2 separate regions of the Homo sapiens genome follow, and region 2 is linked to region 1. Evidence: promoter capture Hi-C in 16 types of primary human blood cells and fetal thymus (Javierre and others, 2016). All regions are on one chromosome and are shown on one strand. Each heading gives the region's core, a stretch centred on a gene start or on the middle of the fragment in contact. The rest is flanking DNA. Distances are from core to core; before and after follow the strand shown.

Region 1 (5,971 bases), core at 1,974-4,473:
CTTTAACATTTTTTCTTCTTAGTATCACTAAAAGTTCCAGAATTACTAATTTGTTTATTTACTTATCCGTCTCTTTCCAAACCCCAGATATAATGTCCATGACAGCAGAGGCCTCGTATATCTCACTAACATCTGTTATCCACAGGGCTTAGACGAATATTAAAGTTCATAGTATGCTCAGTAAATATTTATTGAAAAATGTTCAACGGGCTATATCTAAATCATAGTGTTTTGTCATTTTACTTGGAATAAAAAACAAAGGCCAACATGTTCATTAGGACCTTCAAAGTCCTCCAAGACCTGTCCCCATTATCTCCTCTCCCCCATTTCTTGCTACCCCCATCTCACTCCCTCTGTGCCAGGTTCATGGGCTTCTTTGCTGTTCCTGAAAGATGCCAGAATGCTTCAATCTAGAATGCTCTTCCTCCACATATCTACATGGATCATTCCATTACTTGCCTCTGATTGATATTAAAATATCATCTCAGTGAGGCTTTTCCTGGGCATCTGATCTAGAATTTCAGTCCTCCCTGACACCGGCCACTGACACTTTCTGCATGCCTCCTCGGCTTTATACTCTCTGCTGAGCACTTCTTGCTACTGTGCCATAGACTCACCCTGCTTATCTAGGTTGGTCTTTGTCTCCCTGGTAAAAGATAAGCTCTACAAGGTCAGGAATTTTGGTCCACTTCTGTCCACACAGAGCCCTGAACAGTGCATAACACTCTTACCAAATATTTGTTGAACAAATGAACAAGCAACTTAATTATCTCAATATATTGAGCAGTTGTTTAGTTAAAAAGACAAAATTTATTTAAGATTTTTTTGGCCATTTGATAAACAGAGTGTTACTCTCCTTATTGGCAATCTAGACAAGTTTGTCTTATTTAAGGAGTGCCAATGGGAGGTTAATATTTGGAGAACATGAATAATGATTGCAAAGGGTGTGAAAGAAATTGAGTAATACTATCAACTCCATATTTGGGGTTTACAATAGGTATGTTATTATGCATAGTGATGTTGCTGCTTGCTACTTCTATAGTATATACTTAAGCCCATATATACCTAATAATGAATTTAAAAAAAAAATCATTCCCATTTGGCAGCCATCTTTAGAAAGTGACATATTCTTCATGGGAAACACCTGATTTGTCCTGTCTGTTTTTATTGAAATCATTTCCTTGCATCTCAACATTACAATTACTTGCTTAAGAGCTGAACTATTGGTCAACCTGCCTTGATGAATCAACTGAAGAAACTGGATTGTGAGATGAGTTTTATATGAGTAATTGTTCTATATTTCATGCCGTACTGATCTGAGAGCCCAAAAACCTAACCAAAAATTTGCAGGAGTGAGGGTGGGAAAAGAGCAGGTTTCTATTCTGAACTACCTGGACATTTGGATAACTTCCATTTTTCCAGAAAAACAGTGAAATAAATGAACAGCAATTCTGAAACCAACATACAGTTGTAGTGTAAACTGGCATACCAACTGATCTTCTACCAAGAAGATCAATTATATTAGGGTTACCTTCCCTATTGGGTCAAACATGCCTGTTCCAGAAATGACCTATGAGAAAGGGGAACTGTGGTTTGCTTACATTCAACAGATTCCCTTTATCCCTTCTTGGCAACTATGAGAACAGGCTCATCCAGTTTTATCTGCTATGTTTTGTTTTCCTTTCGAAAGCAATGACAGTAACACTGTATGAGAGGCCATAGTCAATTCTGAAACAGAAAAGCTCCATTAATATTAAACTATCTGTCAAGATTACCCCTTTTTGGTCATTGGTAGGAATCACCTCTTGCCTTCAAGGATGGCTGACCCCATCTGGGTAGAGGATTATGCTAGGAAACTATGAAAAATAACTATTTGAGGGGCAATGGCACATGACAGGTATGTCTCTCTCTTCATCACTGCAATATGGACTTTACAGCAGCTTGAAAATTCATTAAACTTAAATATCTGAGTTTATATTAATGCTTAAGTCTATCCTTTCCCTCAACTTTTCAAAATTTATAACCATAAAACCCTGTATATTCTATATATGAATGAATATGTGTGAATATAACTAAATATTGAGAACTGTAGACATTTTTCTTATAAACAGAACAAAATCAAAATTCAGAGCTGTATTATATTAAACAATAATTTTGTTGTTAATAACCTTGAAATTTATGTTATTACTTTGGGCTTAATTTAATGATGTGCAGTTTAAAACAACTGGAATTACATACCCTTAGCTTTACATCTTGACATAAAAAACTCACAAAACATGATACAGGTGTGAAGGCTCTAACCAAACACAGCTTTTTCCTAGGAATGCAGTCTCTGCTTACAGTTCACCTACTTCAGTAGTTTTCAGAGGCTTAATTAATGTTGCATTGGGTGGGAAAGTCTTGAAAGCTAATTTATTGTGATCAGTTGGGTGAACACACATGCACACATATACCCTAGTTGGTGCAACACTTAGATCAGAATTCGAAAGTAACAGAGCAAAAAATTGGAAAACAGAAAGTACTCTTAAGGTCTCTGTGGCTATTTCATCTAAGGAAGTGCATATAAATGTCTTATTGCTCTCCTGGCTTGCCTCACTAAGTCGCTCCTCCTGGAATGAAACTCTGAGCACATCATCATCCATGCTTTTTCTTATTCATTATTTTGATTGTTTTTTGAGATGCAAATGAAAGGAAATTGGCATTGCTGTGCCTAGGCTTTTTGTTTTTCTTTTTGCTTTTTTTGGTGGTAACCAGCTGTTTGATAAGCAAACACTCAAGGAGAGCCAGGTCGAGTTGGCCCATGCCATCCGTGCAGCACACAGCACTACTGTCTTCTTTGCAAGGATTTCTGCTGGAAACCGCGATCGAAGGTGCACACGCACTCACACATGCACACACACACACACAGAGGCCTCACTTCCCACGGCGCAGGCCGGCGCTGCAGCACCCGGGTGGGTGGGAACGCGTTCCAGCAGCAGCAGCCCGCCTTCCCAACTCACCAGCCTGCGAAGTTTCCTTGCCGGGAGAGCAGGTGTCAGATTTCAGAGAGGTTTCCTTCCCCTTCCCAAGCCCTGGAACTCCCGGGCTCCACCGTCAGCAAGGAGACAGGATCTGCTCCACAGGGCGATGAGCACGGGGACAGCTACTTATCTCCTCCAACCTGTGGCTCCGGATGGGTCCAAGGCCGGGCGGTCCGCAGCCCCTGCCCGTCAGGACTGCGAGTGGCAGGGCTGGTGGCACCACCCTCGGAGTCCGCCGCGGCGGCGGGGCTGGGTAAGGTTTGTGTGAGAAGAAGGCGTGTCTGCAAGTCCCAACGCGGATGTGCGGAGCTCACCTCAGGCAAGTCTTGCTGGTGACTCAACTGCTGCAGTGAGAAACACACTCCTCTCGGGGATGAAGTCTCCACACTGTGGGGCTTCTAGCCTTACCAGCGAGCTCATTTTTATTCATTTTTGTTCTGTGTTTTCTTTGATGTCTCTCATTCAAAGAGCCCAGGGCGCTGTGAGAACTGGGGCCCTGACATTGCGTTCTCTCCTCCGAGGGGGTGTCTCATTAACTATGAGGAGTGAAGGCGAGGGATTGCGAGTGGGGAGCAGAGGATGGCCTCGGGAAATAAAAGAGGGCGTTGGAAAGAAATTAATATTTTAAAAGTTAGGATGTGTTCGTATGAATGCATTAATCAGTATGCAACATCCAAATTCACTTCCCAAAGCCCTAATTCACTTCCTAAAGTCACTTCAGAGATCAATAGGTTACCACTAAGTAAGATAATGAGCACACGGAGGCATTGAACCAGTATTTGTTAAGCACCTACTATGTGCTATGCCGTGTTCTAAACACATTAGATTCGTCCACAAAGCAAAGATCCTGGCTGCCCATCTTGGGATTCCATTTTAGACACATTCAGACATCCCTAATTTACAGACTGGTAGTAAAGGTAAGAATACAAGGTTAGGTACATTATAATAACAACCGATTTACTCCTCTGTGAACAAAATTTAAAAGTTCCAAACCTGTGTCTTGCATTCATGTTAGTAAACAACGAGATGCCAATGACTGCTTGAATTTTAATTACTTAACTTGTTTCTTATTCGATGCCCTAGAGACAATCTGGGAGGCACTGCTGTTATCAGCTCCCAGAGAATTTCTTGTAGAAGGGAGCAAAGGAATAGCCCAAACCAAAACACAAAACAAACAATAGCAAACTAGTGGAAAAATGGAATATTAGAGAAAACATTTTGGTCTCATAGAAATCTGTCTATTCTATTATGAAACTATTAAAGAAGTTCTATTTTATGTCCTTCAATGTTCTTGAAAGTTGAAAAGAAGAGTAATAATAATGTCTTCATAGTGTTATTGTGAAGAATTGACTTCATATCAGTAATGTGTGTAGAACGTGCCTGGCACAGTAAGTTCTATGAATGTGTTGGCTATACTTATAATTTTGGTAACAATCTATTCCATTCTCCCCAAGTAAGATCCAGTTCCTAAAAATTATTTTGGATCTACTGCATAAAAGTCTTTGAGGCTCAGCCTGTAGATTTTCAAAGTATGTATGCTTGGAATCTATATTTATGATAAATCTACTTTGCATTTAACAGCAATATCTAAGTATATAAGAAGTGTGTGTCCATGGGCCCAGACAGAAATAAAAGAAAGAACATAAGAGCCTTGAATCTTTTCCACTGTTAACACATTGACTTAAAATCACCCTCTGTGCTATACAATGATAACCCATATTCTTTATCTAGTTCATGTGTTCACTACTGACATTAGTCCTAATAGCTATTATTTCCTGTATGCAATAGAGTTTCATCTCATTTGGCTTTCACAACATTACTGTGAAATAGGCAAGGCGTCTATTATATTTATTGTCTCCATTTTCAGAATGAGGTAACTGAGGTTGAGAAAGTCGCAGTAAATCTGTCCAAAGTGATGAAGTTCAAAAGGTGGAAGACAGGTCTATTGATCCTGAATGCCGAGCTCACAGTGGTCACTGTGTTGTACTACCTCACTGCAACTTCTAGAAAAGGTTCCTGCCATAAGAAAATCTGACACACACATTTATTGATGACTCTCCTTGCCACCTTTCCCTAGATAAGTGTGTCACCTGCTTTATAGGGCCAACTCTTGCAGGGATAGCTCTCCTGGAGTGACTTGCCACATATGGTCCTGTCTCCGAGGTTCCAAGGCTCAGATTCAGTAGTGTTACATAGTGACACTACCAGAGAGTGGTGGAACATTTCCTTCCCTGGGAAGAGGGGTTCCAAGGAAGAGAAAGAGTAGGAAGACATAAGAGAAATGTTGCTTGGCCACTCCATGAAGGCCACTTTGACCAGAGGTAGAGCAGAATAAAAAACAGTGGAAAACCAGTGAAAACAAGGTGACAGCATTGTGTGTCATGATAATAATAGTAATAACATCTTCCTGTACCTGGAGTTTATGTAGCATAACTTAAGTAGACATAACATCTGTCTAATTCAATCAATATGGCACTGAGGTAAACATTAATGTACATGGGGTGATGTGTAGTTACAAATGGCAAGATTATCACATGTATTTCATCTCTCCTCAAACTGCTTTATTACAAGAATAAATGAATTTTTTTAAATGTTATTGAATCACAAAGACAAATAAGCAGATAAAATAACACATAAACTTGTAATGAATTTTGGAAGAAGCTAAATCAGATGCAGGCGTGGTAACTGATTTGGAAGAGCAGAGGATTCTATACACTGCATGCCTGCAGGAGAGATTATGGTAAAAAGCAAGCCAATTCTTCCTGCAAAACCTGGGCAGGCTCAGGCCTAGGAGGCAGAAATCTCAGCATAGAAGGAGGCCAGGTGGTGGGGTAAACACAGGGGTTTGGTTATACGTCTGTATATTGGAATGCTTGGACCCAGAGTTCCCTTCCCCACTGTCACACAATCAACCAACCATAAGTTCCTCCATCTGCTCAATCCAGCTTCCA
Region 2 (5,971 bases), core at 1,824-4,323, 87 kb after region 1:
ATCTTAAAGGAAAATAAAAACAGGTTTTTATCTTCTCTTAGAAGATTTCTTTATCACATTTTGAAATAAAAATAAATAACTAAAACTTTGCCCTAAAATGAGACAGGAAAGGTAGAAGAAATATTAAGCATCCAAATCTGCTAATCATTTTGAATGGGTCCAATATGAGCTACCTAGGAGATATACAAGTAGCCATGGCTCACACACTTTCCAATGAATGAAATCAATCTATCTTCTTCATATAACATTTATTCACTGTTGATTTTAATAAGTTAGTACAATGGTAAAAAGAACAGATTCAGGCAAATTGCTTGGCCCAAATTATCTCGAGGGATGATTGCTGGATATAAATTACATCAGAATCACTCCTCTAGGCACTGGTTTTCACCACTAACATCTCTTGTCTGGACTGTGATGTGATATCTCTGTAACTGGTCTGTGCTTCTCCCCACCTCCCTTACGGTCGATTTCCTAAGGGCACTCAAGTGAACCATTAACACGTGACAGAGCATGTCTCTTATTTTTCCCACCTCTTCAAGGGTTTCTCATCTCACTGGGCATAAAGGCCACAGTTCTATCAAGGATCTATGAGCTGATTCGCTCTGTCCACTCTGGCTCTTTGTTGTGTATCTGATCTCACCTCCTATTACTCTCCTCTCTCCCTCTTTATTCTAGCCATATTTACCTTCTTGCTCTTCCTGGAATGTGACAAACACACTGCTATGCAAGGACCAGGCATCCACCAGTCATCATTCCCTCTGCCTTAGGTGCTTTTTCCCGCATTTATTGTCTGAATGGCTCATTCCCTCACTGATCTCAGGACTCTGCCTAAGTTCCACATGGACTGAGTTTTCCTCACTCATGATTCAATGGAAATCAGCTCCTACTCTCTCGGCCCTTGATCTTCATTAATTATTCACATCTGACATATTATAGCTGCATTTCCATATTTGCATTGTACTGTCTGGAGCTCCAAGATAACAGGAACTCTATTATCAGCCCCTAGAAGAGGATCTGATTCATAGTAGGAACTCAATCAATATGGGCTGAATGAATAATAGAATACCACCACAAAAAGAGCTTCTAATTCAGTTATGTTAATATAGTGACATAAAATGCTGAAAATTACAGTGACACAAAATGTTGAAAACTACAGTATGTAAAAGCTAAATAGCACAATAGCTGAATGAGATGCTGCAGAGTAGTGTGGAATTAAGGACCAGATACAAAATCATTGGCTTAGGCAATAAGAGTGGGTGTCCAAGAATGCTTGAGATTATGTTATACAGGACCAGGAAGAAAAGTGATCTTCTCTGTTTCTATCTAGGCTTGAAAATCTTGTTCCAAATTGGAAGACACACTTCTGAGGATTGCCAGCAACTTCTGCAGGCTTCCAAAAGTAGTACATGGTCTGGTCATCCTGCCAAAAGCTGACCTCACAGGGTGAGTTGACATAGATGCAAAATTTGCAAGGCTTTCCTGCACACTTTAGGAGTCATGAGCCCTATTATCAAGGTCCTGGGATATGGCCAACATCCACAGAGGAAAGCACAGTGTTATGCAACTGGAAGCTTTTGGTCTTCATATGCAAGTGGGCAGCATCCTCCTTGTGGTTAGACTCCAGGGATTTGCTGTTTTCTGTCTCACAGTCTAGAAACATAGAAAATCTGGAAGCCAGACTGCCTTACACCTACCACTCAGCTGTCTTCAGGGCACTTGTTCTCATAATTACTTGCTTTATACTCAGAAAATGCAAATAAACTTGATTATTAGCAGAGGCAAAACACAGAAATGAAGGCCAATCTATTGCAGACATAGCAAATGTATTCTTAGTAAATAAATTACAAATGATTTAAATGACCTTATACTTTATAACATTTGTATGACTGACCCCAACTTCCTCCTGCCTTCCGTTCTGATAGATTTAAGTAACATCATGTACATGTACTTTTAGGTTTTTGAAAAACAAGCTAGGATGCTTATAAACTCAGAAAGATGAAACTGCTTCCAGGCAATTTAATCATCAAATAAACCGCATGTACGATAATGACTTCAACACTGTATTCCACCCACCATTACGACTGCCAGAAAGGTCTCTCCTGTAAGTTTCCTGAAGGACAGTGTTACAAGAGGCTTACAGTTTCCTCCAGGGTGATAATTAAGTCATTTTGCAAACAATTGCCTTAAAGGCTTTCTCCTGGTCATTTGTCCTAATCAGAAAAATAAGACTGCTTTAGATTCTCTTTCCCTTTCAAGCTTTGCATATGAAAACATTCACTCCTCTATGAAAAGCTGCATTAACTTTTACACTGAAATATACTTTTATTTGTAGCACAAGCCTTCAGGCCAAAACAAACCCCTTAAGACTGATTTTGCCAGAAGGTAGAATGTCAGAATCCTCAGAGCTTGTTTTTGCAAGTATTTAACTCTAGACTATGTCTTCAGATATTATAGAGGCCTTGACTTCTTACCTACTGCCAGCTTAGGCAAAAGGAGAACTAAGCCATTGCCAGGAGGTAGGTCACTTTTTACTTAAAGAAAGCTTAGAGGCCAGGTACAGTGGTTCACCCCTGTAATCTCAGCACTTTGGGAGATGGAGGTGGGTGGACTGCTTGAGCCCAGAGTTCAAGACCAGCTTGGGCAACATGGTGAGACCCTCTCTCTACAAAAAATACAAACAAACAAAAAATTAGCTGGGCATGGTGGTGCATGCCTGTAATCCCAGCCACTTGGGAGGCTGGGGTGGGAGGATGGCTTGAGCCCAAGAGTCAGAGGTTGTAGTGAGCTGAGATTGTACCACTGCACTCCAACCTGTGCAACACAGCGAGGCCCTGTCTCAAAAAAAGAAGAAAAAAAGAGCTTAGAGTTCTTGGTTCAGCAGCACAGTACATAAGATTGGAATGATTCTTAGTAGCTTCTCATGGCCACTATATTTCTTAAAAGCCAGATGCACAACAGTGAACTTAGTATACTAACTTTTTTGTGACAAAAGGGAGGAAATAATATACATTCATCTTTGACTGTATTGGCAAATGGAAACACTGAATAGGTGATAAACCTCTTTAGCTTTAAGGAACAGGGCTGTGGGTGACATGGTGGGATGGGCGGAGGAATGTAGGTGAGTGTTCTAATGTTGTCCTTTTGTATTTTTCAAGTTTTGATTTACTAATTCAAAATTTAAAGGGTCTCATAGGAAGATATGGTCTTAGTAACATTTAACTGTATTTTACCTTATCTTTGAAAATTATTGTGATACCACTTGCCTCTTAGGTTTTGTATGCTAGGGACACTATTTAGTATCCATGACTTCCGGAATAAATGCTTTTTATGAAAGTAGGTTATTAGATTATCATCATGACCAAAAACCTAGGTAGAGTTTATTGAAAATAAAGACCAAGTTTTAGTCTTGTCATATGTTTTCATCAATTTCTCAGCCTCCTTTCTTCTGTTAATAAAAATGCACTAGCAGTAAAATCTCCTCATTTCATTCTTTATATTATCTATCTATCGATCTATCATCTATCTATCTATCTATCATCTGTCTATGTCTATCTATCACTTAGTGAGAGCCTGCTATATACTGGCTTATATATCCCAAGCTTTACATTTTACAAATGAAGGAAGCTGTGGCTCAGAACTTTTAAGAGACTTGCCAAAGTTGCTGATCCAGCATGTATACCTAGATCTAACTAATTAGAAAGCTCTCACTGTGCCAACAGGACCACTTTAGCCACTCCTAGGTCATGATTCTACTTGAGAGAAAGTGACATGTTGACTGGAGACATTCCACTGTCAAGCTGTGGAAACTCAGGCAGGTATCCTATAAATAAAACATTGGAAAGAAGGTCCTCATTTCCTTTCTTGTTCTAATATCCAGATGAGTTACGTTAGATTGCTCTCTTTAATAAAAATAGGTTCTGGAAATTTGTGTTGGAAAAAATGGTCTGAATACTAAAATGTTTATTCAACGTAAGGATTGCAAGAATGACTCATCATTTCCTTCATATCCCTGAGGCTCTATAACTCTTTCTATTTAGACATCTAAGGGGTTAGGAGGACAATGTCTGAGAATTGTTTCATTATCTGGGGATGAGCTAATAGAAACTATAAGAAATAATCATTCTTATAGGAAGATCCTTAACATTACTGCCTTATCCAGAATCAATCAAGTAACTGAATTTTAATAATTGTAGCCATGAGATGAATTCTTCCTCCATGAACTTGTTACCAGACCATGAACAAACCATAAAAGACAATAATAGGTAAGTGGGACTATATCAAATTAAGCTGTTATGAAAATAAAGAGGCAAGCTGCAGAATGAGAGAAGAACATATTTGCAATACATATATCTTACAAACAATTTGTATCCAGAATATATAGATAACTCTTACACATCTACATGGGCAAATGATTTGAGTAGACATTTCTCAAAAGAAAATATATGAATGTCTAATAAGCTCACATAAAGAAGCTCAATACCATTAGGACTTCGAAGAAATGCAAATTAATCACAGTGAGATACCACTACATACCCACTAGAAGGGTTAAACTTAAAAATATTAAGAATACGAAATGCTGATGGGAATGTGGAGAAACTATTTGTACTGGAGAAAGTAAAATGCAACAATCACTTTGGAATAAAATTTGGCAGCTTCTTACAAAGCTAAATGTACACTTAGCATGTGGCTCAGCCATTCCACTCTTAGGTATTCACCAAGAGAAATAAAAATGTGCCACACAAAGATTTGAAGATCAAAGGTCATAGCAACTTTATTCATAGCAGCAAAAAAAAAAAAGAAAGAAAAAAAGAAAGAAAGAATTTAAGGGTACATCAACAGGAGAATGGATTTTAAAAAGGTAGTATTTCTTTCTTTCTTTTTTTTTTTTTTTTTGAGATGGAGTTTCGCTCTTGTTGCCCAGGCTGGAGTGCAATGGCAGGATCTCAGCTCACTGTAACCTCCGCCTACCAGGTTCAAGCAATTCTTATGCCTCAGCATCCCAAGTAGATGGGATTACAGGCACCCACCACCACGCCTGGCTAACTTTTTGTATTTTTAGTAGGGATGGGGTTTCACCATGTTGGCCAGGCTGGTCTGAAACTCCTGACCTCAGGTGATCCACCCGCTTCAGCCTCCCAAAGTGCTGGGATTACAGGCATGAGCCACCACACCTGGCCAAAAGGTAGTATTTCTATATGGTGGAATACTATTGAGTACTAATAAATTAAAATGAAACAACACACAGCAAAACTCAAAAACATGACATGGAGTGAAAGCAGACATACACAAAAGCATACATATTGTATGATGCATTTATATGTAATTCCACAGAAGGCAAATCAACTTGCAGTGACAAATAGCATATTAAAGGCAGCCCAAGGCTAGGGTTGACTGCAAAGAAGCATCAGGGAAATTTGGGGGGTGATAATATTCTCTATCTTGAAGACACCCATAGTTACACAGAGATATACATTTCTCAAGACTCATTGAGTTGTACAATTAAAATAAATGAGGCTTATTTTAGGTAAAGTATATTATAACAAAATTGTTTCATGAAAAACATTCAAGTAAGTTTTGTTCCACAACTAGCAAAAGGTGCAGATCAAATTAAAAAACAGATGAATGTGGTTATGTTCTAAAAAGGGATTTAAGGTAGAGGTACGTTATGGAAAAATCTGATTGCAATGTCTGGGATATGATAGGTGTATTAGTCCATTTTCACACTGCTGTAAAGAACTTCCCTGGGACTGGGTAATTTATAAAGAAAGGGGTTTAATTGACTCACAGTTCTGCATGGGTGGGGAAGCATCAGGAAACTTACAATCATGGTGGAAGGGGAATCAGGCATGTTTTACATGGCAGCAAGTGAGAGAGACAGCAAGAGAGGAAACCGCCACTTAAAAAACCATCAGATCTCACGAGAACTGATTCACTATCACGAGAACAGCATGGGAGAAACCACCCCCATGAT

What was found. Contacts are between HindIII fragments. The CHiCAGO score rates a contact against its expected background, and 5 or more counts as called.
Region 2: a contact is called between a fragment that was not itself captured here and the fragment with the promoter of RAB27B in region 1, in 1 of 17 cell types (megakaryocytes). The highest score is 5.5, in megakaryocytes.

The regions. Positions count from the first base shown.
Region 1 is chr18:54,825,729-54,831,699 of GRCh38, reverse strand. RAB27B (RAB27B, member RAS oncogene family) reads right to left here and starts at 3,223. Exons shown (of 6, transcript NM_004163.4): 1 at 3,000-3,223. The HindIII fragment of the contact is 8,053 bases long and covers 1-5,971 here.
Region 2 is chr18:54,738,379-54,744,349 of GRCh38, reverse strand. It overlaps a transcript of RAB27B not described here. Among named protein-coding and RNA genes, the nearest start is that of RAB27B, 87 kb to the left of the region's middle. The HindIII fragment of the contact is 1,057 bases long and covers 2,545-3,601 here.